2 separate regions of the Homo sapiens genome follow, and region 1 is linked to region 2. The links are contacts of gene promoters, found by promoter capture Hi-C in human tissues and cell types (Jung and others, 2019). All regions are on one chromosome and are shown on one strand. Each heading gives the region's core, a stretch centred on a gene start or on the middle of the fragment in contact. The rest is flanking DNA. Distances are from core to core; before and after follow the strand shown. Region 1 overlaps CXXC4-AS1 (CXXC4 antisense RNA 1). Region 2 holds the start of CXXC4 (CXXC finger protein 4).

Region 1 (2,700 bases), core at 58-2,557, 49 kb after region 2:
GCAAATGCTGAGAGATTTTATCACCACCAGGCCTGCCTTACAAGAGCTCCTGAAGTAAGCACTAAATATGGAAAGGAAAAACCGGTACTAGCCACTGCCAAAACATACCGAATTGTAAAGACCATTGACACTATGAAGAAACTGCACCAACTAATGGGCAAAATAACCAGCTAGCATCATAAGGACAGGATCCAATTCACACATAATTATATTAATCTTAAATGTAAATGGGCTAAATACCCTATTAAAAAGACACAGACTGGCAAATTGGATAAGGAGTCAAGACCCATCGGTGTGCTGTATTCTGGAGACCCATCTCACTTGCAAAGACACACATAGGCTCAAAATAAAGGGATGGAGGAATATTTACCAAGAAAATGGAAAGCAAAAAAAAGCAGGGGTTGCAATCCTAGTCTCTGATAAAACAGACTTTAAACCAACTAAGATAAAAAAAGACCAAGAAGGGCATTACATAATGGTAAAGGGATCAACGCAACATGAAGAGCTAACTATCCTAAACATATATGCACTCAATTGTTCTCTTTAAAGATTACTGCTGAAATTATACCTCTTCAACCTCCAGCCAAAGAAAGGATTCAAAATTCCATTTGTTGTTAAATAGATATTTATTTATATAAATTTACATATTTTTATAAATAATATTTCAATATCTGGTTAATGTGGTTCCAGTTTTTTAAAATCACTTGACACTTTGAAATGTCTGACACTGTATATCACTAAGGTATATAATTTACAGTCTGTTATAATGATGTTCTTTTAACTGTTGGATCTTTGATAAGAAATATTTCTTCTTTGTCATATACATTGCAATGTATAGTTTCTTTTTAGAATTAGGAATTTGATCAATTGTTTGTTCACTTCAGTAAAAATATGACTTTCACAGTAGAATGTCAACCCACCTCCACTTACTCAACCCACTGGTAATCAAGATTCCATTCCTCTAAAACACATTAAATAATGCTGTCACCCAGTATTGTCAGCTGGCTAGTCACCCTTCTGTAGTCTTCAGTCTATAGCCTGTGCTCACTGGTTAAATTATAGGTTTACCAAGAAGCAGTTGGATTTGCCCTCAAAGTTGTTTCATTCACTTCACTTGTTGTCATTTTAAATTTAAATAAATATTCTATAAATTATTAAGTATGCATGAAAGAAAAAAGAAAACAAATTTGTTTCTAGGAAAATTAAACTGAATGCTCGGAAATGTCTTGATAAAGTTAAATCATAAATCGAAGTTGAATTAGGTGCAGAAAAAAATCTAAAAATTTAAGAAATGTTTTTTTCTTCTAAGGGCTTTAAATTTTAACTCCACTTTTACAGAATTCACTATTGAAAATTGTAACTGATGTATTGTGATTGTAATTTATTCAAAAAGGAGAGCAAGTAACTAAGTAAAAGGCCTTGCCTATGAGAATTTGATGAAGAAATGTGCCTTTATATTCTTTCAGTTAAAATAACCTTTAAAAATATGTTATATTTTATGATTCCCTTTAAATCTATATTTTAGATTAACAGATTAACAAAAGTTTGTAATCTTGGATAGAATGGCACTACCGTATAATTAAATGCTGATTCATCTGACTCCAAATCCTTTGCTTTTTACCACTATAGTAACATTCAATTCTTGCCTAATTTTTCATACCTTAAAACAAACAAACAAAGGACAACAACAACAAAAACCTTTTTTTTTATATTACCTTCTAGACAAACCCTAATTTTTCTTCTTTTCAAAGTTAAGTTCCTCAAAATAATCTACTATGATTTCTTCCTCCATTCACTCTATAAGTTGCAGCAGCCAAAGTTCTGACAAATAAGTAACTCTGGCCAAGGCCTGGAACTGCTGTTGAAAAGTCCACCCATGAGCCTTTCAATTAGACTTTTCTAATGGGTTCTATTCATCCCCATCTTGTTCGATTTCAGTAGTATTTTAGATGGTTGGCTGTTTTCTTCCTCTTCAAAATGTCTCCTTTCTTGGTAATTCCTTCTACAGCACTGCGTTTTTTTGTTTTTTTTTGTTTTCCTCAGTCTCTTGCAGGACTTCTCTTCGTATTTACTTATTTGTCTCAGGATTTGTCAATGGCTCTTTTATGTCCCTTTCTTTCATTCATTTTTCTGATTATAAAAGTAAAATATGGCCATTATAGAATATTAGAAATTAAATATTATCTTGAAATCAACACAAAACTTAAAATTATGTATAATCATGCCACCTATCAATTACTACTGTCACATACTGATTATTTTCTCTGCCTTTTTATGCCTAACAGTGCTTAACAGAAAGGAAATGATACTCATATTTAGTTTTGTTTTCTACTTTTTTCACTAAATATTATTTTATAAAATTTCCAACATTATTAAATATTTCTTGAAAATGTGATTTTTATAGCTGAATAACATTTTATAAATTTGTGATGGTTTAAGCATTCTGCCTTCCTTACTGACATTTAACTTGCTTCCATATGTATTTATTTTTAACTCAAAATAAAAATTTTACTTTTTTAACAGTAGAGTTTAATTCACATTTATTGTCATAACCAATGTAACTTCCTTCTCTTTTCAATAAAGGTAAGAGAGTGTTTTTTCCAAACACACACCAGAGAATGTATTTCTGTTTTTCTTCTCACAAATAGTTAACTCTTGGCTTGGCACGGAATTCTTAAGTCATATTTTTGCCCTATGAAA
Region 2 (2,700 bases), core at 84-2,583:
ATTAGGCAAAGTAAATCAAGATAAGGAACCTCACCCCAGGCTGGATTAGAAGCTTGCAGGCATCTTTCAATCACAGCAAGTCCCTAATCACTCAGGAACCACCTCTGTGGTTTCGCATTAGGGAAAACTGCTGCCTTCTCAGGTCTGAGGGCAATACAAAAGGTGCCCCCAAAATGCTCTTGGCTAAATATTCTTGATGCTTGGAAGGGGTGAGGGAAGACACAGCAAGAATATGCATATAGCTTCAGTTTCTGCGAATCACATTGTAACTGCAAGACCATAATAACTGCTACTCAGTAAAAACTAGTTATGTCAACCATGCATTAGATATCATCACATTGAGTGGAGGGAAAATTTTCAACCTTTTAGTCTTTTGACCTTGTTCCAAATAAATAAATAATTTAACGTCCCTTTTTTAGAGTCTTAGAGTGGTGTTTCCAAACACAAGCTTTCCTTGCTTTTCTGATTGCCATCACCATCCCTCTTCCTACCTCAAGGTTTAATACCACCAGAAACTGTAGAAAATGATTATGCCCAGTATCCAGGTCATTATTGTTTAATCAATGCATCTCTGGAGCATGAAAAAGGTATCTAAGCCACAGCTATTGTTTGGATTTTATTTAAAAACAAAATAAAACACACACAAATAACTATAGTTCTATGCCAAAGCTAAATTAGAGATCCATACTTCATGATCCTGTTTTGCCTTTAAACAATGTGACTTTACATGCCTAATACTGTATGTCTGGTCTACCAGAGACATAGAGATCAAAGGTCATATTTAACATTCAGGAGGAGGGGCGGGTGCAGACTAATTAATAAATTAATACAGCGACGCTTTTTCTTGCTGGAGTCCAGCATTAATAATCTACTTTCACAATCCCAACGGACAGCAAACATTTAAGAGAAAAAAAAGCCAGAGAAAGAGAAAGAACAATCACTTACCAGTCTCTTTTTATTTGGGGAGCCTTAGAATTTGCAGACGCTGCCAGTCTGCCTTTAATTAGTTGCACATCACCCCCTAACACAAAGAAACACAAATCCAGATGTGTCTTGGCAGCTCCCAATTACAACTTTAATACTTGTAAACAAACTGTTGGGGGGGGGGGGGTAAATAAATATGCGGATCAAAAAAAATACCTGTAAATGGCTTTTTTTTCTTGTTGCAGAGAGAAGGAGGAGGAGATGGTGTTAGTGGTGGGGGTGGAAGGAGGAGGAGGTGGGGGGAGAGGAAAGAGTCGAGTGTGAGTGTATGTGTGAGAGCGCGGGTCTGTTGTCGGTGGTCTCTCCTCTCCCAGCGCGTTGCTCTCCGTCCGTCTCCAGTCGCTGTGTGCGAGGGAGGGAGGGAGCCGGGGAGTCTCTCCTCTCTCTCTCCCCTCTCTCTCTCTCTCTCTCTTCCCCTCTCTCTCACCCTCCCCCCTTCTCTCTCTGTTTGTGTGTGTGCGAGTGTGCGGTTGCTGGGGGAGGGGAGCCACAGAGAAAGGCGAGGGAGGAGGTGTGGAGGCTGGGGGCGGGGGCGCGGGGGTGGGGGTGATTGGCGCCGAGGTGAGGAGGACGCAGGGACGTGGACACCTACTGATGATTGGCTGCAAATTACACGGGGAACAAGAGGCGCACGCGGGCCAGCGCTCCTTTTCACAAATCCTCTCCTCGGCAGAGGAGCCACGTTTTCCCTGCTCGCCTGCGGATCGCCCTCCCTCCTCGCGCCCGGCTCTCCGGCTCAGCCCAGCACACAGGGCTGTTGATTATTTTCTTTTGCTCTCGGAGATAATTGTTTGGAAGGGTTGGAAAGAGGGCGTTTCCGCCACTCTGCGTGTGGGGTGTGTGTGTGCGTGCGTGTGCGGGTGTGTGTGTAAATAAACTTGTCTGGGATTTCTGGCTGGGTTGAGAAGAGCAATACAAGAAACAGAGAAAAGGTCATGTTTGTTTGAAGAATGCTCTTAGTTCGTACCCAATGGCATGGTTTTAAATAAATTTCCTGGTGTACCCAGGAAGACTTTAAAAAAAAATACCATTTAGATCTTTAAAGTAAGGGAAAACGGACCGGTGTGGTTCTTCAGACCCTCGAAGTACTATTATGCCAGAATGTAAAAAATCGGTGATATGATGCTTGGCCAATTTCAAAATCCATCTCAATCTCTGTCTCTCTTCTCTACTCTTCTCTCTCTCCTCCCAAAATCCTCTTTTACTATTCCATCTGGTAGTTCCAAAGAATAAATCAGATTTTTAACTCACTGCCCTATTTTTTAATTTCAAACTTTACTTAAACAAAAACTTTTGTCTTTCAGTCTATTTTAGAATAGTATGTAATTAACATTTCACTTCTTGCCACTTGGGAAAACATAGTTTATGAATTGAAACATAAATATTGTACGGCACGTCAAATATAAATAAAACTCGTTCATAAATGCAGCTGTAAATTAACCTCTTCACTGCTGCCTCAAATAAAATATTTGTGGACACATGCTATCCTACTATTAAAGTATACTCTAGTGGAAATAGTTATAAGATACAGAATTATGAATACTTTTGAATAATTTTTTTTCTAAGAGCAAAACAGTGGCTAAGGTAAGTTATAGAGTAGGAAAGAAAAAACTTAAGATTATTTAAATTGGTGTTATCAAGCAGAGTACAAGTTTTGTATTAAAATTAAGTGTTTATTCTAGAGTAATGCAATATTAATTGTTCAGATAAGTGAGG

What was found. Contacts are between HindIII fragments. The study calls those that stand out against the background at their distance.
Region 1: a contact is called between a fragment that was not itself captured here and the fragment with the promoter of CXXC4 in region 2, in 1 of the 25 tissues and cell types used here (neural progenitor cells).

What each region holds. Positions count from the first base shown.
Region 1 is chr4:104,542,900-104,545,599 of GRCh38, forward strand. All of the region lies in intron 1 of CXXC4-AS1 (CXXC4 antisense RNA 1), which reads left to right. The region is part of intron 1 of LOC124900745 (a long non-coding RNA gene); the gene reads right to left. Among named protein-coding and RNA genes, the nearest start is that of CXXC4, 49 kb to the left of the region's middle. The HindIII fragment of the contact is 7,596 bases long and covers 1-2,700 here.
Region 2 is chr4:104,493,561-104,496,260 of GRCh38, forward strand. It overlaps CXXC4 (CXXC finger protein 4), which reads right to left and starts at 1,334. Exons shown (of 3, transcript NM_025212.4): 1 at 1,141-1,334. All of the region lies in intron 1 of CXXC4-AS1 (CXXC4 antisense RNA 1), which reads left to right. The HindIII fragment of the contact is 3,942 bases long and covers 251-2,700 here.